6 separate regions of the Homo sapiens genome follow, and regions 1, 3, 4, 5 and 6 are each linked to region 2. The links are contacts of gene promoters, found by promoter capture Hi-C in blood cells and fetal thymus (Javierre and others, 2016). All regions are on one chromosome and are shown on one strand. The core of a region is centred on a gene start or on the middle of the fragment in contact, and the rest is flanking DNA. Distances in the headings are between cores, read along the strand shown. Region 1 has its middle 9.1 kb from the start of TADA1. Region 2 holds the start of CD247 (CD247 molecule). Region 3 has its middle 27 kb from the start of TADA1. Region 4 holds the start of LOC124904449 (a long non-coding RNA gene). Region 5 overlaps TADA1 (transcriptional adaptor 1). Region 6 holds the start of ILDR2 (immunoglobulin like domain containing receptor 2).

The links. Contacts are between HindIII fragments. The CHiCAGO score rates a contact against its expected background, and 5 or more counts as called.
Region 1: a fragment that was not itself captured here is called in contact with the fragment with the promoter of CD247 in region 2 in 1 of 17 cell types (fetal thymus); the score reaches 5.5 in fetal thymus.
Region 3: a contact is called between a fragment that was not itself captured here and the fragment with the promoter of CD247 in region 2, in 1 of 17 cell types (total B cells). The highest score is 5.9, in total B cells.
Region 4: a contact is called between a fragment that was not itself captured here and the fragment with the promoter of CD247 in region 2, in 1 of 17 cell types (total B cells). The highest score is 5.3, in total B cells.
Region 5: a fragment that was not itself captured here is called in contact with the fragment with the promoter of CD247 in region 2 in 1 of 17 cell types (fetal thymus); the score reaches 5.2 in fetal thymus.
Region 6: the fragment with the promoter of ILDR2 here is called in contact with the fragment with the promoter of CD247 in region 2 in 10 of 17 cell types (activated CD4 T cells, fetal thymus, total B cells and 7 more); the score reaches 11.3 in activated CD4 T cells.

What each region holds. Positions count from the first base shown.
Region 1 is chr1:166,883,366-166,887,395 of GRCh38, forward strand. No RefSeq gene overlaps it. Among named protein-coding and RNA genes, the nearest start is that of TADA1, 9.1 kb to the left of the region's middle. RefSeq lists enhancers at 349-850, 851-1,350. The HindIII fragment of the contact is 5,404 bases long and covers 1-4,030 here.
Region 2 is chr1:167,516,864-167,521,287 of GRCh38, forward strand. It overlaps CD247 (CD247 molecule), which reads right to left and starts at 1,666. Exons shown (of 8, transcript NM_198053.3): 1 at 1,545-1,666. The coding sequence starts at 1,602. It also overlaps the pseudogene AKR1D1P1. RefSeq lists enhancers at 63-1,026, 298-1,497. The HindIII fragment of the contact is 3,961 bases long and covers 1-3,224 here.
Region 3 is chr1:166,901,002-166,905,449 of GRCh38, forward strand. It overlaps a transcript of ILDR2 not described here. Among named protein-coding and RNA genes, the nearest start is that of TADA1, 27 kb to the left of the region's middle. RefSeq lists an enhancer at 995-1,495. The HindIII fragment of the contact is 2,490 bases long and covers 1,632-4,121 here.
Region 4 is chr1:166,925,018-166,929,636 of GRCh38, forward strand. It overlaps ILDR2 (immunoglobulin like domain containing receptor 2), which reads right to left. Exons shown (of 10, transcript NM_199351.3): 7 at 2,050-2,163. LOC124904449 (a long non-coding RNA gene) reads left to right here and starts at 2,154. Exons shown (of 3, transcript XR_007066714.1): 1 at 2,154-2,590. RefSeq lists an enhancer at 188-347. The HindIII fragment of the contact is 675 bases long and covers 2,641-3,315 here.
Region 5 is chr1:166,861,164-166,865,379 of GRCh38, forward strand. It overlaps TADA1 (transcriptional adaptor 1), which reads right to left. Exons shown (of 8, transcript NM_053053.4): 4 at 2,661-2,758; 5 at 1,040-1,249. Among named protein-coding and RNA genes, the nearest start is that of TADA1, 13 kb to the right of the region's middle. The HindIII fragment of the contact is 2,149 bases long and covers 537-2,685 here.
Region 6 is chr1:166,973,536-166,978,046 of GRCh38, forward strand. It overlaps ILDR2 (immunoglobulin like domain containing receptor 2), which reads right to left and starts at 2,005. Exons shown (of 10, transcript NM_199351.3): 1 at 1,688-2,005. The coding sequence starts at 1,733. It also overlaps a transcript of MAEL not described here. RefSeq lists silencers at 1,855-1,904, 1,965-2,254, 2,375-2,424. The HindIII fragment of the contact is 7,595 bases long and covers 525-4,511 here.

The sequences.
Region 1 (4,030 bases), core at 1,342-3,841, 630 kb before region 2:
GAGCTGGGTTCTCCAATACGGCAGCCATGTATGGCTATTTAGCACTTGAGATACAGTTAGTGAGACTCAGGAATTGAATTTTTAATTCAATTTAAATTTAAATAACCACCTGTGACTAGTGGCAACAGTATTCAACAGCTCAAGACTAGAACTTCCATTGCAGTGCAGAGCATTGGTACTCACGGTGGGCCTCTTGGCAGAGCACCTGGCTTTCATGGCACTCCTCACATTTCACCAGGAAGTATGATGTTTGTTGTACATTTGGAAAGTCACCCTCTATTCCCAGTTTGCCAAGAAACAGAACCAATAGAAAAAAAGTGTGTGTGTGTTTATTATCGCTCATGAGATTATGGAAGCTAAGAAGTCCCACCATCTGCCATCTGCAAGCTAGAGAATCAGGAAAGCTGGTGGTATAATTCAGTCCTAGTCCAAAGGCCCGAGGAATGGAGGCGACTGCGGGAAGGTGAAGACACGGCTATAAGTCCTGCACTCCTAAGGCTAAGGAGCAGGAAGCCCCAGACCATGGGCAGTGAGCAGAAGGAGACGACGTCTCAGCTCAAGAGAGAGAATTGGCCTTTCCTCTTTCTTTTTGTTCTAGTCAAGCCCTCAACAGATTGGATAATGCCCACTCACTCAGGACAGGAAGGACATCGCGCACTTTCAGGCCGGCTGGTTCGGTCTTGGCCTCGTTGACTTATGTTGACTCTCAAGGGCCGCCACCCAGGCACCTGCCCAGGTGCGTCCTAGGTTCTCTCAGGTTCAGGAACTCACCGGCTCTGGCGGCGCGGGCGGCGCGGGTGGCCCTTGTCCCTCAGGAAGGACTCTCCCTGTGGTCACCCAACTCTAGGCGCTCACGGCCTCTCAGCTGGAAAACCCCGCCGCCTGCAGAAAGCGGGTGTGGGAGGATTAGTTGGCTTTGGGGTCGGGATGGGCGGGCGGCACGGTGCTGCTCTTAGCACTAAAGCGGCTGTTGTCCGAGAAACGAAGCGAGAATGCAGAGCTGGCCCCGGCGCGAGCGAAATGTCTCTGCAGCAGCACCGCTTGCCTTCGCTAGAGGAAGAAGAGACGGCCCTGAGCGCAGCATCACCTCGGCCGGTTGGAGTCTGCCCGGCTGCCGCCAGGGGGTGATGCGCCCTCACCTTTCCTCCAGGATGCCCGGGATCCCAAGGAGGGTCGTGGGTCTCCGCGTCCCAACCTGGAGCCTTGGCCCGGGATGATACCCTTGGCCACCGGCAGCAGGTCTCTGGTGGCCACCTGACGCTTGAGCATTTCTTCTGCGGACCCTGGGAAGTCCTACCCCTTGGACTCATAAAATATCTTGGTTGTCCAAAGGTGCCACTTTCAGACCCTCCAATAACGGCAGGGATAGACTCAAAATCATTGACATATTACAGGCAGGGTTGTTACCTACAGGAAGAAATTGACGAATTGTCACATTTGGGGACAACCTGGGAGCTGCGGACCAAAGGGGCCTGACAGCAGTTGAGTGTAAAGGCAGGGCATACAGAGGCCACCTGTAGAGTTTACCCTCTCCCCCACCCTACCACCCACCTTGGGTCCTGAGTGAGGAAGAGAGTAGAGTGCAACCCATTGTGAGCTCTTTCTCATCAGGCTCTAGGAAATAACAACAGCTGATATGTACGAACTCCCTGCTACGAAGTGGGTCTACTACATTACCTCCTTTAGCCCAAACCATAATCCAGTGAGGTTTGAATTGCTGCTATCCCCAGGCCATAAGTGAGGGAACTGAGACTCAGGAAAGTTCAGTTGCTCTAGGTTACACAGGAAGTGGCAGAGTTAAGACTGGAACCTAGATCTCACTGACACCAGAGTCCATTTTGCCACAATAACCACAAAAATATGTTAACTCCAGTGAGCACTTAATATCTGCCAAGCATTGTACTGAATATGTTTTTTGGCGATGATTTAAAATCCTTGCCACAACCCCCCACAAGGTAGGTACTACTATTGTTACTCCCATTTTACAGGGAGATAAACTAAATCATAGAGAGTTAAGAAAATTGCCCACAGTTACACATCTAGTAGAACTGGACATAAGCCCAGTAAGCCCCATTCCAGAACTCATACTCTAGCTACCATGTTCTACTGCTTACTCTAGTGTGAGTGCCCCTGTCCATTTCTTCCTAAAGATTTCATCTGAGACAAGCTGGAATGGTCTGAAAACTCCCTGATGCCCTCCAACCAATGTAGCTGATGCCATCCTTTCAACCATCCACATTCTACTACACCTCCCTGCAGCTCCATGATTTCTGCACACTGTGGGGATGGAGCTCACGCATGCCCTGCACCCACATTTTGAGAGACTCCCCCTCTACAGGCTGCACTGTCCTCACTAGATGCACATCAGATAGGTAAGAGATTTAGGCAGAATAATCTTTTTTGTTTTCTTTTTCTTCCTCTCCCTCCTTCCCCTCCTCCTCCTTCTCCTCTTGATCTGTCACCTGGTTAATTTTATTTTTTATAGAGATGGATTTTTTTTTTGGAGACAGGATCTTGCTCTGTTGCCCAGCCTGGAGTACAATGGCACAATCATGGCTCACTGCAGCCCTCGATCTCCTGGGCTCAAGTGATCCTCTCACCTCAGCCTCCCAAGCCGCTGGGACTACAGGTGTGTACCACCATGCCCAGTTCTTTTTTTTTCTTTTGTAGAGATGAGGGGACTTTCTGTGTTGCCCAGGGTAGTCTTGAACTGCTAGGCTCAAGCAGTTGGCCAATCTCAGCCTCCTAAAGCGCTGGGATTACAGGTGTAAGCCACTGTACCCAGTCCTGTCTTTTTTAATTACAAATATATGACACCTGAGTTTATTGCTTTCCCCAAGTTACCAATTGTTTTGTAGAGTACAAACCTAGAAAATAGTATCTGAATGGTTGACCCCAGTTCAAGAAGATGAGGCAGGTCTCACCCACATGAAACTAGGACTACTGCAATTTCCATATGTTATTTAAAATGGACTTTGTGGAACTGTACCTTTATGGTAGATCCTAACCCAGCTGGCTTTGCTCTGTTTCCTAGTAGGATTTGCGGGGCTTGCAACTTCAAACAAAAAATTCCAGAAGTGTGCCCTTTGCTACTTCTGCATTATTAGAATCTGTTGGAAGCCTGTGATGTTCCATTTGCCTGTGAAGAGGGTGACAGCTGGTGTAAACCAGGGTCATGAAATTTGGCTGCTTCCATGGCAGTGATTTCAACCTGAGGGATGACTACCCAATACAAAATAGTAATGGCGGTCACTGCTAGATATAACGGACTCCTGGGTAGCCTCAAACCTCAAAGTACTTGTATTGCTTTAGGCCTGCATGGCAGGTTTTTGCAGAATGCCAATAATAGGAGCCTCAACCTTTTCCACTATATGCAGAAAAGAGGACAATGGAAAGAAGGAACTGTCTGTGTATGTTCTAATGCCAAGCAGAGCCAGCTTCTCAACAGATAATAATGATGTTAGGAGACATTTATGAAACACTTAACATGTCCACACAAATTAATGTCTAGTCTATTCCAACAATTTCCATGTTAGGTAGGGGATACTGTGGAACCAACCAGGCCAGGGCAATGGAATCCATTCCATCTGGTTGCTATGGAGAGCCCAAGGGGGACTACAGAAAACATGCAGTGTCTGCCCATCATTTCTGGAGCCAGATATAACCAAAGGAGATTACTGGAATTTGCTTGCTTGAACAGATTATTTCTACTTAATTCACCCTACAATAGCTTTCATAAGAGCAATGGTTCTCAACTTCGGTGTTAGAATCACTTGGGAGAATTTTTAGAAATTCCATGCTCTGGCCGTTCCCCAGAACGATTAAACTAGAATGTCTGGGGAATGGAATCCAGGTATCACTATTTTTCAAAGCCCTCCAGAGATTCTAATGCGCAACCATTCCTCATAGTTTTCCCCCTAAACCTTATTTAATAAGCAATAGGGCACCTATGTGACAGGCTGATAGATGCAGGACACCTACCACATCAGCCAGGGCAGAGGACCCCTGTGGGCTGGGAACCCCAAACATT
Region 2 (4,424 bases), core at 416-2,915:
AATCTTTCATTTTTCTTTCTAACTTCACTTTGCCCCTACCTTGGTCTCTCCAAGCCGAACACAAATGGACCAGTGAGGAAACTGCAGGTAAAGACCCTGAAAGGTTATATGAGCTCCCTGGTGTGGTGTCTCAAGCCTGAAGCTCAGAGGCTGGAGCTATTGCCCCTGGCTGTCTCCCCTGAAGTCACTAAATTCCAGCGTTCTGGGTCCCCTTGTCCCCAGCACACAAGGATGGGCTGCTCTGAGCAAGCTCAGGCACCCTCACTCTGCCACACTGTGTGTGTGACTTAGACCCCACAAGGCTTTTCTGAGAAAACAGCTGTGACCTGACAGAAACCCCTGCAGCTGCACGGGCCTCAGAATCCCCCGAGGCGCTGGCCCGGGCTGTGCCTGGCTCCCTGGTGGGAGCAGAAGTGCCCATGGCCTCTCCTGCCCTCCCAACAGGGCCCCTAAACAAATTCCCACACCCAGGTGAGTTACCAGGAGCGATCAGGTGGGCCGAGGACATTTGCTTGCTTCACCTTCCCTGTTTCTTTAGATTGAAATTCAGCCTGCCCCACTTCTCAGGAAGATGCCACGAGGCTGATCCCCCTGAGCAGTTTGTCCTGTCCTCTTTTCACTGGTTTTCTTCCTCATTACCTGGGCTAGAAAACATGGTGGAAGCTAAAGGCTTGCAGCAAAGCTGGGCTCCCACGATCGGGAATGAGGTGAGGAGCAAGCACTCTTGTTGGCTGGGCGCTGCTCGTGGTGGTGACTTAACCAGGCACATCGTCTCATCTGCCCCGTGTTCTGTCAATGCCGGGCCCTCTGGCTGGGCTAGATGGCCGCCTAAGGGGCAGGCTGGGGTGAGTCACGGAGCCTGGGATGGTGCGTCACCCGGCAGTCCCAGGCGTGGGTGTGGGGACAGCCATGACAAGGCTGAGCCTAGACACGGACGCTTGGCCATGAGGTGGCGAAGGCGCTGTGGAGGCTGCCACCCGGTGCTTCCTGCCTGTGCCCCTCTCCTCCTTGGTTACCCCACTTACTCCCGGGCCCATTGGAGTGTTTCAGGCCATGACCTTGACTGACCAACAAAATCTTCTTTGTTGGCAAAGGAAGAAAGAAAGGGGCTGAGTGACGGAGCCAGCCAGAGGGTGAAAGAAGCTGAAGGGACTAGAACGTCGCAGCACGAAACATGGCCTGGCTGACATTTTCCGATCCTGTCCAGCTTCTGTGAAACACTCCCTCTCCGTTTCTCTACCCTGGGCCTGCCTCGGTTGCTCTCTTGCTTCCTTCTTCCTTCCTCTCTTATCACTCGAAAAATCTGTACCTGGAGGAGCTGTGTATTCTAGCAGCTGGCTCTGAACTGATGCCCAACTCGGCTGTGACGGAGCAGATGCCAGCACCGGGCCGGACCCCTCACTGCTCACTTGCCCATTGATTTGAGGAGGGCAGGATTTGAAGGAGACCCCAGCCCCTCACCACCCTCCACTACCCACACCCACTCCCCTACACATACACAAAGAGTTTCTAGAAGTTCCCTGCCGTCGACACGTCGGCCCTACCTGTAATCGGCAACTGTGCCTGCAGGATGGCCGCGGTGAAAAGCGCCTTCCACTTCATCTTGTCCTTTCCCTCAGAAAGAGGCTGGGAGGCAGAGGCTGAGGCAGCGGTGGCCGGGACGGTTAGGAGAAAAGGAGTCTCTGCTGGTTTTATTCTGCAGCTACCTCCCCAGGAAGTGGAGGACTGTGGGGCCTTTGAGAAAGCACCTGCCGACAGGGCCAAGAAATTCGCACTCCCCCTTTCGGTTCACAGGCAGGAAGCCCTGGAGGTTTGAGGGTTTGGGGTGTGTGTATGTATCTGTCTGTCTGAATTTTGCTTTTTCTCTCATTTGACCATTGTTTTAATGCTCCTTTTTTTAAAAAAAATAATTCTTATCTAATTCCTATCTTGATTGGTAAAGTCCATCTCTAGGCAAATACAAGTTCTCGATGGATGTAAGAACATTTGCTGTTTTCCTAGACTGTCAAATATTTTATGGTGGCTGGCAAAATGACAGAACCCTGGATTAGAGTCCAGGACAAATGTAGAGACAGATTCCTTGGGCTTTAGTGACATCTCTGCCTACCACCTACTTGCTGTGTGGCGTTGAGTCAGTCACTCAACATCTCTAGACTTCAGCTTCCTTATCTATAAAGCAAAGAGCTGGAGTAGATCTGAGGTTGCAGATCTGAACTTGGCCTGAATTTGGATCATTGTGTGAAATACTGTAGCTCACATAGTATTTTAAACACTTGTGTTAGTTGTCAACATTTAAACACCAGAGTAATTTACAATAATAAAACATTAAAACCTAGACATAAACTTCGTCTAAAAATTGTAATATATCTATATGAAACAAACTTTAAAACATTGCTGAAGAACGCCGAAAGGACTTGGGTAAATGGAAAGGCATACCCTTCTTTGATAGGAAGCTCTCTTTTAAGGAGACCACCATTCTCTCTTAATTAATCAATCTATTTCATTGAAAATACCAACAAAAAGTTTTAGAACAAGTTAAGCTGATTCCAAAATTGATATGAAAAAAATTAATGTACAAGAATAGCCAATAATCCAAAGTCACAGCAATCCAACATAAAATTGATAAATTGGACTTCATCACAATTAAAAGTTTTTGTGCATCAAAGGACACTATGAAGAAAGTGAGTCCTGCAAATCACCGCATACCTCTAAGTGATGGAAACAGCATTCCCATCATCAGACTTGGTACCTACTCAGAGCCTAAATTGACCCCTAAGGGGGCCGATGACTTACTCAAGGCCACACAGCAAGTAGGTGGTAGGTAGAGATGTCACTACAGCCCAAGTAGTCTGTCTCTACATTTAGTCTGAGTCTTCATCAGTGAAGGTTGTCATTGGTCTGGGGTGCTGACACACTGATGAAGCCTACATATACCAAAATGAAGACACAGCTGGGGAGGCCATCAGGGGGAAAATAGCAGAAGGAAAGGTGCAGAGGAAGGATATCTTCTACTGTGGAAAACTGTGGGCTACAAATCACAACCCAGAGCTGGTCTGCCCGAGCCTAGAGAGGATGCTCAAGGTCCTCCAGCTAGATTGTGTGGATCTTTACATCACTGAAATACCCATGGCCGCTAAGCCAGAAGACAAAATCTACCCTATAGGTGAGAATGGCAAATGGTTATATCACAAGTCAAATCTGTGTGCCACTTGGGAGACTTCGGAAGCTTGTAAAGATGCTGGCTTGGTGAAATCCCTCGGAGTATCCAGTTTTAACAGCAGGCCAGCTGGAGCTCATCCAGAACAACCCAGGACTCAAACCCAAGCCAGTCAGCAACGAGGTTGAGTGCCACCCATATTACACCCAACCAAAACTTTTGAAATTTCGCCAACAACATGACATTGTCATGATTGCATATAGCCCTTTGGGGACCACTAGGAATCCAACCTGGACAAATATGTCTTCTCTGCCTTCGTTAAAGGATGCACTTCTAAAAAGGTGCAATAAGATCACAGCTCAAGTTATTTTGCGTTTCAACATCCAGCAAGGGGTGGTTGTCATTCCTAAAAGCTTTAATCCTGAAAAGATCAAGGAAAACCTTCAGGCCTTTGACTTTTCTCTCACTGAATCAAGGACATTGAAGCCTGGAGTGAAAATGTCCGCTTCATAGAAATGCTCATGTGGTGTGATCATCCCAAATACCCATTTCTTGATGAATACTGACTTCAGAGAGTTCCTGAACAGATTCTCCCCTCCCACGTGTGGAGGACCTTAGGGTGCATAGTTCCCCATGGACACGGAAATGAAAGAGGTTTTATTATCTGAAAAGTGGTGATGGAAACATGCTTAACTTTTGTATAGTGTAAGTGATTTTAACTCACCCATGTTAAAGACAAAATGTTTAAATCTGTTGAAATTCTTAGGAAATTATCACCTAATATTTTATTAGATAAATGTCTTCTGGGTTCCAGACCAAAAACAAAACAAAACAAACAAACAAACAAAAAACAATTAGATTCCAGAAAAGACTTGAAAGGCAACAGATGACAACCAGCAACAAGTAACTCATGAATGTGGGTAGTAACATTGTTAGCCTGAGTTCTTTAGCAGTCAACAGGACAACAAAGACAGCAGAGGGCCCCCATGTGCCAGGGTGCTGGCAGTGGCCTTGAGGACTTGAACCATTGACTGCAATACAGACACAGCCAAGATAAGATCCAGACATGCATTATTAACAAAAAAGTGATTTGCTGCACCTTGAGTAGGGAGAGAGGGCTAAGTGTAGAAAAGTCTTAAAATAGAGTCAATTAAACACCACAGTGATCAACAAAGCCATAAGGATTTTATTGTTGTTTGTTTCTATCCGATGTATGTTTGTTTAGCTTTTACTCAGCTTGAAGGATGCATACTTGCTGGTTCTCTTT
Region 3 (4,448 bases), core at 1,627-4,126, 610 kb before region 2:
AGATGACAGGTGGAGCACACCAAAAGCACATTCAAAAGCAGAAGCAAAGCCCCAATAGCTTTATAGCTTTGCCTGGTCTCTTTGGTCACCTTCCATTTTTAGCAATCAGAGTTGGTGGCCTGGAAGTATAGTCTGTGGCTACAAGGGGCTCACACTCTGTATATCTAACACAAACTAATTGAGCATGCCTCAAATGCTCCACATTCCCCGAGTTTCTCAGGTTCTTGGCAGCAACAACAACGATTGAAAATAAACTCTGCTCCCTTCCTCTTGGGGGAGAACAGATGGCCGGATCCCCATCAACCTTACAATCACTAGGTCCCTCGGGGTTATTACAAACATTAACTAAGAACTTCTCCTACAGCTCATCTCCATGGCCAACTATGAACAGCTTTTGAACAAGTTCCTTATTCATAGAATGACAAGCAAGAAAGCCCCCCAACCAGAGAATCTGTCTGCCTGGAGAGCAGGTGAGGCTTTGACACCAAGACATTATTCTTGCTGGTCCTCTCCTCTTCCCTCCCTCATCCTGAACCAAGGCTCCTTTTGCCCTCAATGGCACTGTCCCAATTTGTTTTTTTTATATTCAAGGGCTGATTTCTCAAATGTTATAGACGTGACTTCCAAAAGGGAGACAGTTTTAGAATCTTCTGTGATCATTCTCTCACAGGCCAAAAGACTGGATTTCTAAAACACAAAAACCAGGGCCAGCAGGGTTTTATTTTTCTGCCTTCTTCCCTAGTTCCCCCACAAGGCTGCTTAGTCTCATTGGTTGCAGACAGATATCTGTGTTAACAAAATACAGCCACTGACATTCACATTACCTCATCCATGCAGCAGTTTTGTCGTATGGGTCCCTTTGATATTAGGAGTGACCTTCCTCCTTGGTGCCAGAGAGATTTTAGCTGGAGTGCAGTGGCGTGATCTCGGCTCACTGCAACCTCCGCCTCCCGGGTTCAGGCGATTCTCCCGCCTCAGCCTCCCGAGTAGCAGGGATTACAGGCATGTGCCAGCATGCCCGGCTAATTTTTCATTTTTAGTAGATATGAGGTTTCTCCATGTTGGTCAGGCCGGTCTCAAACTCCCGACCTCAGGTGATACACCCGCCTTGGCCTCCCAAAGTGCTGGGATTAGAGGCATGAGCCACCAGGCCCAGCCAGTTTCTTTCTTTTGACAGATGCAAAAGTCTCTCTTTTTCTGTGAGATCCTGGACCTCCTCTGTCTGCCAAGGCTGCACATGTCTCTCTCCCCACTTTACAGATTAGGAAGAAGAAATAAAAAGCTAAAGTGCATAACATAAACTCTGAATCAACCCTTCTTCCTGTCCTTCCCAACAGAACCTGAATTTGCCTGGGTGTCATATACTGCCCTCTATGCAACAGCTATGACTCAGAGAGCAGTAACTCCAGGCCTATTCCTTATTCATCTAAGCCAATCAGAGGGCAGTAACTCCAAGCCTATTCCTTATTCATCTAAGCCAATCAGAACATGACAAGCTAAGTCAGAAAGTTCAGGCTACAAAGACTTGTATTATATAATTAGAGAAATGACTTCTCTCTTCCTTGTTGGAGGTGAGTGAGGAAACACATTGTCTCAGTCACCGACCACAAGAGGAACCAGCATTAGAATGAAGCTTAAACTTGAATGGCAAAGAGTAGAGTTAAAAAGATATTGGCAACATATTTAAACTTTTGGAACAACCAATTATTGTAGCCCATTCTACATTTTGTAGGCTAATAAATGTCCTTATTGTTTTTGCCAGTTTATGTCAAGTTTTCTGAGTTTTGTTTGTTTTGCAGTCAAAGCATCCTATCCTACCCTGCACTTCAGTTTTGTCCACCTCAAGAAATTCCACTGCTGTTTCATTAGTTATTCAAGTCAAAGACCTAGGAATCATTTTTTTTTCCTTTTCCTTCACTGTCTCCAAAATTGAATAAATCAACAAGCCTATTTTCTCTACCTCCAAAATACATTCATAATCTATCCTGTATATCCTTCTCCACTGCCATCGTCTTATTCCATTGTCCCCCACACAAAATCTGCATTCGCCCTCCAACTGTTCTCACTTCTTCCACTCTCGTCTTCCTGTAATCTGTTCTCCATACAGAAGTCAGAATGGTCTTTTTCAAACATAGGCCACATCATTCATCTGTTTGAAACTTTCTAATGGTTTCCAACTTAGAAAAAAGTCCACATTTCTCATTGATTTAATTACAGTAAAGACTATATCACTATAATAAAGACCTCAAAATGCAGTGGCTTAAATAAGAGAGAAGTGTATTTCTCTTTCACTTAGTCCAGCCAGGCAGGCCAGTTCTCCATGAGGTCATTTGGGAGCCAGGTTCCTCCCATCTTGTTGCTCCACCATGCCTAAGGCTAGTACATTGTCCTTATTTGCATGGTTGGTCACTCAAGGGAAGGAAGTTAAAGGCAAGTAATTTCCCTTCAGTCAAGTAAGGTGGGTGTTGCACGTATCTCTTCTGTTCACATTGCTCTGGTGATAACTCTAGTCACATGGCCACAACTCACAATAAGGAAGGCTGGGAAATTTAGTCTCTGGTTAGCTATCCAGATAAGAACCTTTTTCTAAGGACAAAAAAGAGAAGAGATTTGGGGAGGGTGCCTAGCACTCTGGCATCTTTATAATGGCCTTCTCAGCCTAAATGATCTAGGTGATGTTGGGGGCCCCTGCAGCCTCTTCAACATCAGCTCCTATGTCCTTCCTTGTTCACTAATTTTGAACCATGATGGCTTCCCTTCTGTTCCTCAAACATTCTGAAATCATGCCTACCTCAAGCACTGTTCACTTGTTCTCCCTTTCCTTGGAACTCTGCCCGATGGTCCTCTCAATCTCAGTTTCTTCTTATCCTTCAAGTAACAGTTTGAAAATGTCCCATCCTTTGAGAGGCCTTCTCTGACCACCCTTCTAATATTTTCCTCCTCTTAACAGTCAATGTCCATGATCCTGAGTTATTTTCAACACTGATCCTTTTATGAAATCATTTGAGTATTTGTGTATTGGCTGTCTCCCTCGCTGGAATTTGAACTCCATAAGGGTAGGGGGCCTTATTTGTCTTAATCTTATTCACTGCTGTAAGCTCAGTGCCAAACCATTGTATAGACATAATTAGTGCCCAACAAATACTTTTTAAAATAACTTGAATAAAAGGATAAGACTCTCCTAAGCAATATCTCCCCATCTTGTCCTTGTGCAATTATCTCTCAGATCAAAATGTGAGATTTTGCATTTATCCCTTCTCATTTCATCTTGTTAGATCTGGCCCATTGCCCTCATCTATAGATCTCTCTTGGGTGTGACTCTGAACCTGCCCCCTGCCAGTGGATCTGCAGGCCCTTCTTACCACTGCATGTTAGTAGGCAGGCAGCCACATGGCTTGCACTGTATCAATTGACACTCAAGGTTCCACACTTCTTTAATCTACACTTCTTGTTCATTGCACCCCCTTTTCATATGAGCTTCTACAATCTCCATAGTTGTTTACAAAGCAAGAACTGAGTGTCATGGGGAATAATGAACAAGGATTCAGGAGATCTGGATGCTAGCTCCAATTCCACTGCTGTTTGTTGCTATTTTCTAAGTCACCTTGAGAAGTCATTCCCCTCTTTGTGGTCTTGACTATTGGATCTGTAAAACAGAGAAAATCATGCCTGTTTTGCTTTACTCAGAGGCTCAGATAACAATGTACATAAATACACTGTGGAACAATTAAAAATTCTGTTGGAGTAGAGGGTAGTATTCCAGGACAGCCAGGGCCAGATCACAGGAGTCAGAGAGAGTCTGTGCAACATGGGGAGATTGTGGGGGCCCAGACGCCGTTCTCTGGAGCACATCTTCCAAAACCCCACTTCACTGTACACAGTAGGGCATCTTGTATTTTCCTCCCCTGGTTTTCATGCCAAGCATGGAGACACCTCCTCAAAAAAACTGCAAAAGAAAAAATCCCTTTGTGCTAGGTAACAAGATAAAGGTCTTACTCAGAAAGGAGACTTTTAAATATTGTTATAACCAGTTTAACCTATGGCCCTATATTGCACATTCTAAAGTCTCTCAAAAATCCCAAAGGGGATTGTATTCATAATAAAAGTTTAAAAACTTTAAAAGCTTCTTTTTATCTCTCTCTCAAAATCTCGTATAAATACTGGTTATACTCAAAATCTATTTTTTTTCCTCTCCAAACTCTGCTAGCCCATTCTGGCCATGATCTCTTTCATCCTCTTCTCTCCCACGGTCAGCTGGCTCCATGTAAATCAATTGAGCCAAGCCAGGTTCCACTGGATTCTTTCCTTGTGAACCCATTAAATCATTTAATACCACAAAATTGCAGAAGCTGAGCCAGCTGTTCAGCATTTGGTATGCACTGAAGGAGAAAGAGTTTGAGGAGTGCTCATAACATTTAAATTTTCTGCCTATCACACTGATTTGTTAC
Region 4 (4,619 bases), core at 1,728-4,227, 590 kb before region 2:
AAAAAAAGGAAGTGAAATATATTTGGCCCAGGAGATATAGTTTGCTGAGCCCTATACTAGAACTTCCCAGACTAAAAACATCCCCTAAACAACCCCCACCATTTAGAAGGGCAAAGCAAATGAGGACCATACTGGCTAGCAAATTCATGAGCCTGGACCTCAAACTCAATTCTTACAGAATCTGTTACTCTCCTGCCCCAACCTGAAACCATGAGATCCATTTTATAATGAGATTTCAAGATTGCCCAGTTCCATGATCCAGCCCATGGTTTACTATGTTCTTCAGGAACAGGACTTCTCAAAGTAAACAGTATTCCTACTTTATCTCTATGCAGTTGTTATAATATTAACTTGCAGGTTCCAGGAGATCAGGGTTCCAGTTCTGGCACTGGCACTGAGTACTGGTGCTTGTTACTTTCCCTTTCTACCTTAGTGAAGGGGACGGATTCAACAACCTCAGAGTCCCTTCCAGCTCTGACATTCTAAAGTCCTACTAGCTAGAAGGCTGTGGTCTCTGAACAGAATGGAGCCATGGAGCCATCCACATTACAGCCATGGAGCCATCCACAGTTTGCCCAAGAGTTTCTTCTGGAAAGACCACAGGACTGGGAATCAGAAGAGCTGGAATCTGGTCCTAATTGTGTCACCGCATCCCTAGGCTTCTGTTTCCTCACCTGCACACTACAAAGGTTAACCTAGGCCATCTCTAAGACCCCCTTTGACTCTAAGAGTCCATTACCTTATGACCATTAAGCCCCTAGAGACCATTTTAATGAAGTAGAGAGACAGGAGACATCACCTAAACCAGAATTCTTCCTTTAGTTTTAACCTTAGCTGTTAACTTTTTCTCTGAGCTGTGAGATTCGCAAATTTCCTGCACAGACTCCTCTGTGGTCCCTGACTCACTCTGTCTCTGGCCCCTTACAGGGATCCATGACAACATTGTTACAACTAGCTTGTCAAGTGCAGTGACATCTGCATTCCTGACATTCCAATCTGGAAATGGTCTTTTTATAGTCGGTGTGGTGGGAGGATACAGCAATGGATACAACGCAGACAGGATGAATTTAGAATTGCAAACTGGGTGGAATATGTTGTCCTTAATCTGAATAAAGCTCTTCTAGTCTGGGACTGTTTCCCCAACAATTCCGTCAAGTCTCTCGTTAGTTCCAAGAAGAGGAGGGTAAAGAGACAGCATAATGACCTCACTTCCACACCCGCCAGCACCCTCTGATAATGAGCCTGTCCATGTGGGACCTGCCCTATGTTACCTCCCATGATACATAAGTTGGAATCCACCCCAAGAATCAGCTGTGTCAGCTGCAGAGTATCCAAGGGCTGGGGGTGAGTTAAGGGTTGGGGCCCGGCCACCTCAGACTTAGTATTCAAAAAGTTCTTTTGACAAGAGGATCAGCCTCTTTGCTTGCCCCTTAATCTCTGTTGTTTGGCATCTTCGAGGAGCAACAACCTTTTTTCCAGATTCACGTGCCAGACTTGTTCTTTCACTTTCAGGAGGCCTCCATGCAGCGAGTTGGTGGTTGTATTATCCAAGGCTAGCACCCTTCACGTTGGAAAAAACTGATACTTAAGCTTCCACATCTTAAGACATTACTTTGAATATATTTTAAAGGGAGTAGAAGGGAAAGACTATTTGGAATGCTTTATTAAAATAGTCTTTCCCTTCTACTCCTTTTAAAATATATTCAAAGAAAGTTGGTTCTTTATTCAAAGAAAGTTTGAATAAAATATATTCAAAGAATGTTGGTTCTATCCATGGGGCATGGATAACACAGCCCCAGAAATACTGACTGCCCCATGGAGAAAACCAACATAAACCAAGATGCTACCGAATTGCTCTACTCTTCACACCAGAAGACCTTTTTTTCCCCTCTGTGTACTGAGAGCTACTTTCTTCAGTAGTGTCACCAGCACCCCTGCTAATTCTAAGCCTGCAAGCTCAGGGCTGCCCAAGTTTGGTGACCCCCAAATCCCCTTTACACACTAACTCCTGCATAATGCACAGATCACAGAAAACTAACAGATGCTCACATCTGCCTCTCATCCTTCTGGCTGGATCAAACTGAGCCAGCTCCTTCTCAACATAGTACAGGACCTTCATGGAGTCTCTCTCTTTGTCAGCCTGGATCCGGTAACCTTTGCGAACTGTTGAGAAAAGCACAAGAAGGTGAGCTGAAAAAGGAAAATATCAGGAGAAGGAGGCCTCCATTTATTTTACCAAGTAGAAAATAGGGTTTCCAATTATAACAACTCTTTTTGAAATCACCCAGAAATAACGATCTATATTTATACATATGGGACCATATCTGTGATCCCCTTTATCAGATGGCGCCACTGGAATGGAGGACCTAAAGGTCAACAACAAAATTCCATTACAGTCTATTTTTAGTCATTTGTTAACTTCTGCTTCCTATCTTTTGACCTCTTACAGCTCCACTTAGTGCTCATCTTCTCAGCGCTTTTGCGTTCCATTGGAGGAGCATATTCACACTAAAAAAAGACCACTTTCTAGATTGAGGACATGCGTCACTCTAGCATCTGAGGATCCCACCTTCACTTTGTGAGAGCACAGGTAACTTACAGATACTCAAACATCAAGGGCCTTGACAAAGTTGGCCTGAAAGCTTTGAGTTGCCTAGGAGATAATGCAAAAGTTCCTTAAACTGAGTTGTGTATAAGAGCTAATATTAATTTCTAGACCATATACATAGTAGTACAAAACAAAATTCAAACTATGTGGATTTTTAATTATGGTTCCATTTCATTTCTTTAGCATTTTCCTTTTAGGAGAAGGAATACTGTGTTTTAGACATGATTAATTTGACCTGCTGCGATGTGGTTACAAGCAGCTGTTATTTTCAGGGCTTAATAAAAAACAAAACTAAAGCAGGAGAGAGAACATCTCCTACATCTCTATCACTCATATTGTCAGAGACAAAGGCTGTTTAAGCCCCATATCACTTAAGTATCAGTCTAGCCCAATACCAGCCCCAAGAGTGATAGATACCAGTGGGCCTAATTTACAGATAAGAGAAAGAGGAAAAAACGAAAGAGAGAAGGGAATGATGGGATGGGTACTGAAAAATAATGGTAATTAGTCAGTACTTACTGGGCACTGAAAATGTGCTAGGTACTGTGCTAAATGCTTTACATGGACATTTGTTCCTCAGAACCACCTAAAACAGTACTGTTATCAGCCACATTTTATGTTTGAGAAAATTTTGGGTCAGAGGGGTTTCATAACTTGCCCAGGAAAAATTTAGCAGTGCCAGGGCTGGAACCATGTAGTCTGATGGAAGCTTAACCATATTTGGGCATCTTGCCTCTCTAGAGTCTAAGAAGAGAGGTAGTGAGAAGAGACAGGTGAGAAAAACAAGGAAGGAAAGCCCAGAGTAAGAACTGCTTTAGCTATGCCATGGGTTGTATGGTCTGCACAGCATGGTCCTATATTCCAGCTATTAAGGACTTTTCAATGGGATGTAAGCTAGTGACCTAACTCCAGCATTCCCTGTTCCCAAAGTGGGGCAAACACCATAAAGAAACCATATGACTGCATGTAAATTCAGAGAAAACCCTGCTGTATAGTGTCTGGCCATGTTACCCTGGCTGCGGACAAAACCCTCCCACGCAAGCTATTTACATGGAAGATTAAAATATAAAATTCCATAGCACTCTAATTGTAGTCCAAGCACTAAAAACAGAAGTCACCCACACACCCATTTGCAGGTGCACCGATTTTCTATATGAGAATATACTGGGCAGTCCACATTCATCTCAAATTGTGGAATTACTTAGAAAAAAAATTAATGAATCTCAGCACACACTTTTTAGTGGCACTTTCTCCCAGAGGTTAGATCCATAATCCTTGTGTGGAAGCAATGATTAGCAGAAATAATTTTATTTATCAAGCTAAACATTCTTCCATCTCTACAAAGGCATTTACTGAGTCGTACAGACAGTTCAATTAAAATGCAATTATCCCACAGAACTGCTATGTCTGTTCTGGAGGCAGTTATGTCTGATGGATGAGACTCCAGCCTGGGAAGTGGGGAACTGGGCATTGTGTAGGCATGCAGTGCTATTTATTGAGGGACCTCAAAGAAATGGTGACCTATGTAGGACTCAGTTTTCATGTCTATAAAATGCAATGAATACTTGCCAACCTTTAAATAATCTCTTAAAGATGAGAGGACAACTAAGACCAAATCAGTGGAGCACTTTGAGTTCTCTATCATTATCAGGAGCTGCTCAAATGCTGCCTCAGCCAAAGGGCTTTCTTTGATTCTCATAGCTTGAAAAGTTCTGTCTCTCTCTCTAACTTACAAATCATTCAGTTTGAATTTTATTATGGCCCTTAATATATTCTAGTTTGTTTCAAGTTATCTGTATAAATGTCTAATCTTCTCAAAGATTCTTGAAGGAAAAGAATCCTTATGGTTCTGGATCTCCATGTGCCTAAAACCATGCTTTACACATAGTGGGGAACTTAAAAAATGTTCGTTGCATTGCTGTCAGCCTGGGAATTGGGGCAGGGTTAATGGTTTCTTTGAGAAGTGCATTTTCAGTAGAGTTTTCCCCTCTAGACTGCAAACTTCCTGAGA
Region 5 (4,216 bases), core at 361-2,860, 660 kb before region 2:
ATATAAGAAAAGGTTGAGGAAGCCTGTGAAAATAGAGTGACAGAACTCGTCCCAGGCTACCATTATTAATAGGGGAGCCAGCATCAGGCAGGGTGTTTCAATTATACCAAGGAAAATCCACTTATATCAAGACATTATTGTACTATTTAAATTGGTTTGCACGCAGAATTCATTTAATGTTTATAACTTCATGGGACAACTGTTATTATTTTTGAAGTACAGATGAAGAAAATAGGGCTCAGAGAATTGAAAATCCAATGTCACCTGACCATACTCGTGCATTATAGACCCCATCAAATTAGTTTTGTCAAGTAACTAAATGAATAAAATGAATGGACAAATGAAATCATGAGCAGAGACAAGAATTCTGCTGTTCAGATGCCAAGACTAATACTCTTCAGTGCTGTATCACAGCAAAAACAAGTGACTTTAATCTATAGGATTCTCAATTTCATTTCTTTCCTTAAAAACCATTCCCCTGTTGACAAAACATCAGATCAACCAGAAGAGTTATGCCATAAATAACCTTTCTGAAAAGCTTAGTCTATTAACTGAAGACAACTATTTGGATTATAATGAGTTTCTCCTCTTAAAAGAAAACAACTTTTAGCCAGGTGCTATGGCTCACACATGTAAATCCCAGCACCTTGGGAGGCCAAGGCGGGAAGATCACTTGAGCCCATGAATTCGAGACCAGTTAGGCAAGAGAGAGAGACCCCCATCCCTAAAAAATTTTTTTTTTTTAAATTAGCTGAGTATGGTGGCGCACGTCTATACTCCCAGCTCTTGAGAGGCTGAGGCAGGAGGATCGCTTGAGCCCAGGATTTCCAGGTTGCAGTGAGCCATGATCGTGCCACTGCACTCCAGCCTGGGAGACAAAGTGATGCTGTCTCAAAAAAAACAGAAAACAACTTCAACAATGACAATTCTGTGAAATCAGAGTGACATTTGGATTCTTTTCTTGCAATACCGACTTTAAACAACACACAAGCCTATCACATTCAACCTGTAAGATTATTTCTGCCAACAGCAAACCAACCTCCACAGCATAGACAACAGCTGAAACAGCCTCCTCGGTGACATTGTCCAGCCCATGCTCATAAGCAGTCACTATCATTCTCCCTTCAAGCTGGCCTCGAGTGGGAAGCATCATTGTGTGGGAACAAAGTTTCAAGTCGTCATCATCTTGGGGATCCTTTGCCACAAATTGCTGGGCTCCTGAGAGAGGATTTTGAGGCTGGAATCTATGCTATGAGTAAGAAAAACTTTTTAAAATTACTCATTACAGTAGCAAACAAGACACAAAGTAAACTCCTGTACTGAAGTTGAGATCCTCCAAATTAATGCCACCAAAACTATACCACAGGGGTTAAGGGAAAAAAGAGTTAATTCATGCACAAATAATCACAGATTCACATCCAATACAAGGTAATAATGAAGACATGGATTAAGGGGAATAATGGTAGTTTGCGTAGTAGTTTATTCTATTCAATTAATACCTTGGTGATCACAGAATGTATGGCACTGTGTTAAAAATAACTGAAAGAGAAGGAGAAGTATTGAACTATATTCAAACAAATCAGAGCATTTTAAATCTAACCGTAAGTAGGTTCTAAAAGTATAAACATATAATGAATGATTCAATTAAATCTTAAAAAGCCTAGCTAACCAATATGGCAGATCTAGTAACAAATATTCCAAGATAATGCTATGTAGAGTAACTACTTAATTGCTGTTATTTTCTACTTAGAATTCTCAACACAGAACCTAAGATACAGTCATGACTATTTTTCTCAGTCTTTTTCATTCATAAAATCTCAGCCTTCCTCAGGGAGATTCTGATAGCCCATTCATGTTCTCCATCACCACCTGGAGTTATGCCCCAGTACCTTTTGCTTAAGGCTAATATAAAAGATTTTGTAGTGAAGATGGTTTGTCCCTGTTTGAAATTGATATTATGAAAACAACATGGTTATTTTTCCATTTTCCAAGTATAAAACTACTTTATATTGAACATCTCTTTTTAAATCAGACATGTCTCTCTAGAGATCCCAATGGCCTCTACATTCTTACTGATATAAAGCATATAGTCAAGGTGAAAATAAATAATTGTTTATTGATGTTAATCAATAAAGCTATCAATACCCCATAAACCTATAAAAGGGTTACTTCGGGGAAGTTTTTTTCCCTAAATATACACTGAAAAAAGCAATTTGTTTTAAAATGCTTACAAATTTTATAGCCAAATGCCTTCATGACATCTCTACTAGTCCTCAAAAGGCTCAGGGCCCAGCTGGACATCACCAGGACCCCATTAAAGGCCTCCAGGCTGCCTGAGCCCTTGAGACAGATGTCTTCATCCAAGAAACATTATTCATTCAAGAAAAATACTTAACAGGAGAGACAAAAGCATTGTTTTGAATAACTGAAAAATCATTAGGTACTAATGATAACATTACTATTTAAGCAGTAACAAACAAGAACTATAAAAATTCAGACACCTAGAACTCACAATCCTTGAAACGCTTTTCTTCCCAAATCATACTCCTTTTTTTCAACTCTACTACCAGTATTTTAATATTCATTTAAAAACTAAAGCTAGTCCCAACATGCCACTACTTCAATCAGTCATTATCAAGACCTATTAAAGAACAACCTACATCAAATTTCTGACGAACAGAAGAAAGCTTTTTCTTTCCCTTGGGTTTTCCAGGTTTTGCTGCGGAACCCCCTGGCCAAGGCAAAGATCCAGCACCATCTAGGAGACAGAAATATATAACCATAAGTAAAAATAATGACAACTGATAACTGCTAAGTTTGTTTTCATTTGGGGTAAAAAGCATGGAATGCTCATGAAATGCAAATAACTAATGAATGCTTAAATCAAAACCTTCTCTTTCTACTTCTCTAAATAAAATTATCGATCCTCTCAAATCACATTTTTTTCCTAGCTGCAACTAAAATTTTTTTAGGAAGACAAATTTTTTTATATTTTCAATTAATGTTTATTGGGTGTTTTGTTTATTAGCAGTAGTATTATTATAGATGTAGGACAGAATTTGCTGGTCTAAGATGATGAACTGAGCACATGTATTTATCTCCTCTCCCAAGACGCTACAAAATATGAAAGTAAGGAAGGTAAATGGCACACTTGCACAACAGAGGTTAAAAAGGAAAATGAGTGGCAGACACGATGAGATGTCAACAAATTTCTAGGATGGACTAAAAGGGTGCAGACTCGTGAAGCAGACCCATAGAAGCTGTAACCTAGGCTAGGCAAGGAAGGTGGCAAGTGAGGCAGAAGCACGTCAACCTGCCTGGAAGAAACCCACAACCTGGATTGGGAGAATGTGAGTGAGTGGAAACCAGGAGGGATCTGTAAGGCTAAAAACAAAATTAATGGAATGTCTATATCCTTAAATCATCCACACAAACCCATTCACTCACCCCCAAAACTGGGTTCAGTACAAAATCAAAGTGCTGGGCCTCGTGTTTAAAAATTAAGAATTTCAAGATAATGATGGTACAAACCAAGTGCAGGGCCCTTCTGTGCAATGCAGGTCACAGGCCCAGGAAGGCTCATTCCCATGCACAGAATGACACAGAGCAGGGTATTTATAATAGCTAAGTCAGGGGGTTAGAAGGAAGGTGGGGAGGGAATAAGGACTCTTCTCTAGTTAAACCGAACACAATTTCTGGGATTTACTAAGGTAGCTGGTATGGATGTTGGTACCCTACAGCAAAGCTCTCTGTATATGGGAATTTGGGAGACCCCCAGTTTAACAGTAGGCTTCCTGTCAGCTTACTCTAAAGCAAAGTCTCCAGGCAGTTTTATGCTTCATTCTTAAACATGAAAAGGACAATAATTAATCACCAGATATTTGACAATATTCTTTCACATGACAAGAAAGAGCAAGCTAAAAAAATAAAAATAAAAAAAAAGAGGTCCTAGACAGGAAATGCAAAAGAATTCTGATAAATTTCCAACAGGTATCCGCAGAAAACTTTCAGAACATGTTCATCCATGAAACAAGATGCTATTAAAATTGCTGAATTAAAGAATGCATTCAACAGAAAGGCCCAAAGAGTTCAGGAAATCTCAAACACAGAGCAATAAGACAGAGATGTTAAAATCAGTTAATCCAGAAACAGATTTAAGCAACTATGAGGGCTAAAGAGGTCCCACCAGAAGAACAAAAAACAAAAAGTAGTTGCC
Region 6 (4,511 bases), core at 755-3,254, 540 kb before region 2:
CCTGCAAACCCCCAGAGTACTTCTTTTAGGCAGACCCCAGCGTGTCTGTAAAGAGCACCTCTGACTCAGGGACCCCTCCCCCCCCCCCCCGATGCCTGGCTGACTTCAGTGCTGTTGTGATACAGGCTCAAGGACTAAGTGCCCTGAGAATATTGATAACCGAGAGTAGAGGCAGATTAAGGATGTGAAGAATCAGTGAGGGTGGGAGTGGAAGGCACTGGGAGGCCAGGGGAGCGGGGTGGCATGGATCAGCCAAACCCTGAAATTAGAGATGATTCATATCTGAATAATGTGGGAGGGATGAACTCAAAGCAGCCAAAAGAAGAGGCTAACTCTGCTGAGGATGCCTCCCCCAGCCTAAACCCAGCAGTGGGGCAACGGCAATGTTAGGGGCATTTCATTTGAAATGGGAAAAATATTTAGGCAATGAAGAATCTTATTCTGAAGCTAAGGGAAATGGGGTATTTGCCTTTTCTTGCTAAATGTATTTTACCCCCTTTACATGACTTGTTTTAGCTATTTTAAGCTTGTTCCCCTTTGCCTAGTGCCTTGATTTTGTCCAGATCTTCTGGCTGGTGATGCTAGAGGTGACAAAACTTCTCATGTGGTACTATTGTCCCTTTTCTCTCCTGCCTTCCACCCCCATCCTGTCCTCACCTTTCTGATCCCTTTTTCCATTTCTTCCATCATTCTGCCTCCACCTTGATTTGAATGGTTGCCTCTGACCCAGTCCAAGCTATCCAGACATTCCTCACCCCCATCCTACTCCCTTCAGCAGGGCTGCTTTGTGAATCTCTCAGGGCTGGCCACCCCAAGGCCCTGTATCCCTATGGGAATCGGAATCCTCATGTGGGGAAATAGGTTAAGAACAAGAGCATCTACTGACCCCAGCAGAATGGGGAGAAAGTTCACCAAAAAGGAGGGGAGGGCACAGAGGACCCAGCTAGACCAGTGACTTTGATGCTGGGGAGAAGCCCAATGCCTCTAAATCTCTCTGCAAATTATCTTTTAGGGAGCGGAGAGTGCACCTATTAGAAAGGCTCTTCTGCTTTCTAATTATCATTTGGGACCACTCCCCAAATGATACCAAGTAAGAGAGAGCCAGGCTCTAAACTCCACAACCAGTGAAGGTTCCATCCCCATCTTCTTCCCAACCTCCAGTTCCTTGCACCCTCCAGAGAGCCACAGAGAGAATGCCCTGGGTCCCCCTCCTTCTCTAGGGAAGAAATTAAGGAGACAGTCCTCTAGCCTCCACCTCCAGAAAACCAGTTCATTTAATTAATCAGCTCCCTCTGAGCTTCCTTTATTCCAGCCAGGCTTTTCACAAGACTCACAGCATTACAAACTCAGGATAAGACCGAAGGAGAACCGTTTTATGGAGGGGAAATGCATTCGAAAGAACAACCTCAGCGCCAATGAGTCAAACACCTGCATCTAGATGCGTCTCACTTGTCATTGGGCTTCTCCCCCGCCGCCCCCATCATTCTCTCTCTCTCTCTCTCACACACACACACACAAACACATACACAAACACACACGTTGCCCCCTCCCCCACTTTCCACCAGACCGCTAAGCAGCTTTAAACATGGTCAGTAAGGAGGAAAATGGGGGGGCGGGGGGCGCGGTGAGAACAGAACCACTACAGGAATATACAAAGTTATTCGTTTCTGTTGAAAAGGACTCTTACCTGTTAGCCAGAAGAGAGAAATCCACCTCAGCAAGACCCTATCCATCTTCCCCAACTTCCCAGCCGAATTACGGAGTGAGGAAAGTGGGAAATGGCTGGAACAGAAGGATCGCTGTCACCCCGCGGCAGCGGGCGGCGGCGGAGCGGCGGGCACCGGGCGTCCCTGGGCGCAGCGCCCGCCGGGCCGGCCGCGCAGGCGGGGCCGGGGGCTGGATCGCGCCGCCGGCTGAGCGCGCGCTGCCGCGGGCTTCCGGGGTCCGCGCAGCGCTCGGCGGCGCATCCGCATGCCCAGGCAGCGCGGCACGGGGCGAGCGTCTCCCCGCCGCAGAGCCCGCCGCGCGGGGGAGCTCGGCCGCCGCACCGCCTCCCGCGCCTCCGCCCCGCCGCCCGCTGCCGCGACTGCCAAAGTTTCTCGGTCACGTGCTGGCCCCCGGCGGCCCAAAGGTCAGCGTGGAGTGATTGAGGCCACGCGGAGAGAGGGGGTCTCTGGGTGGCAGGCAGCGAGAGGCGCGGGGGAGGCCGCCCCGCGGGCCGCGCCGAGCGGGGAGCGACCATCGCGGCTTCTCCCAGGGACGCCCGCGCTCGGGAACCCGGGCGAGAACGCTGGCTGGGGACTCGAGCAGGGGAGCCTGTGTCTGCGGGCAGCCACAGCCAACCTGAACGGGGAGAGAGTGACAGCGGCGAGGGTGGGGGACGGCGGGGACTTGGCGTAACTTCTTACAGGACTTAACTAGCAAGTCCTCTAGGCTAGAATGTTCGCTTCTGCGGTACCCCCGCCCCTCCGTCTGGTTTCCTTTTTGACAGTGCAAGGAACCAGGCAAGAGGCTCCGCAGAATTGAAAAAGGTAGGCGGGAATCTCGCGTCATTACTTTTTCCTGTTAAAATATGAGGTAGAATAAGGGCATCCGGCCCTTTAACAGAAAATATGTAAAACCAGAATGAGATAAATGATTATAACGGCTTAAATCCATCCAACACTTTATAGATTCCAGCACGCATTCACATGGATTATTCCTATTTGTCAGACGGATTTGTCTTGTGTCTCAAAATGTATGTGTTGAGAGAGAACTGAGAAATGTATGATTTGCTTAAGAAATATATTTATGAAGCCTCTACTAGGTGCTAAGAACTAAGGTTACAAAGTGGAATGAGATAGACTTCCTGCCCTTAGGAGCCTCATCTTGGGTCGAGGAAAGGGAGGAAGGTCAGACCATTAAAGACATGATACTTATTCCTAGTAAAACGGGGCAAGTGCAATAATGGAGACATAGAGAAAGTGCCTTGGGAACATAGAGGAAGGACTAAGTTAGTCGTGGGTGGGGAGGGGGCACCACGATAAAGGAGGGGTAACATCTGAGCTGGCATTTGCAGAAAGCACAAGATTTGAGCCATTCAAGGATCCCTGGTGGAAAGGGGGCAGGCGAGGGCATTCTGGGCAGAGGAAAGAGACATAGCAGAAAGGTCTCAAGTAGCATCTGAAAACAGAGTGGTGCCAGGCTGGAGGGGAGTTCCTGGAGCAGACAGACTCCACACCTAAGAGTGAATGTGTACACAGACAGGGAGAATATGTATGTGAACATGTGAGAAATGGGAAGAATAGACCCTGGGCAGCTGTCTTTTATGGCTGCCTGACATCTCAATTCCCTTCTTATTCTGAGAAATTCCAACTGCAGAAGCCAGAAAGTCTAGAGCCACCTCCCTGACCATCCCAGCTGGAATGCAGGCCCGGGCCCCTGGCATAGCCAGGCTGACCTCTCCCTCAGAGCTTTTTGATTCTGGAGCAAGTGGTGGATATAAGAAACAAGGACAGTGGAGAATTGATTTTGTCACTGAGGCAGCAGCAGCATCCAGTGTACATGATCAGCTGTGGCAGAGGTCAAGCCACCAGGATGCTCCAAGGTGTGATTTTTGGCTGTGGTCTTGCAGGCTCTCTGGGTTCTAGCCTCTCTTCTACACTTGGCTCTTCACTTCCCCAGCAATTCTTTGAGCCACCCAATATCCTTTCATAAACTCTTTCTTTGCTTATTTTGGCCAGGATGATTTTTTCATGCTATGTACTGCATGAGAGAAATTTGAGGACTATTTCCTTTCATATACAGAAAAATAAAAATATAGGAGGTACCTAACACTTGTGGGTTTCCTTTAGGTTCTAGGCAGAGTTCTACATGTTTAACAAACCTTCTCATTTAACCCTAAAGAGGGAACTTAGGCCCAGAGCATTTAACTAACTTCTCTAAGATCAGGCAACTAGTAAGTGGCAGAGCTAGGATTTGAATCTGACTCTAAAGCATATACTGTTTGCACCACAAAAAGAACATCTACACCAGAAGATTGAGATGATATATTTGTATTATGCTGTGCCATTTACTGCATCTATGTGTGTGTGTCACAGTGCACAAAAGAGCTTGAATAGTGTTTATTATCTAAGCACACATAACAGTGGCATTTTGGCCAGGTGCAGTGGCTCACACCTGTAATCTCAGCACTTCGGGAAGCTGAGGTGGGCGGATTGCTTGAGCTCAGGAATTTGACCAGCCTGAGTAACATGGTGAAACCCCATCTCTACAAAAAATACAAAAATTGCCAGGCGTGGTTGTACATACCTGTAGTCCCAGCTACTCTGGAGGCTAAGATGGGAGGACCACTTGAACCTGGGAGGTTGAGGCTGCAGTGAGCTGTGACCACGCTACTGGACTCCAGCCTGGGTGACAGAGTGAGACCCTGTCTCAAAAAAAATGGCATTTTATGCAAAACTTGGACATATGAGCAAGTTTATACATGTGAAAAATGGGAGATGGACTGAGTGAAGGAAGCCTGGATGTGT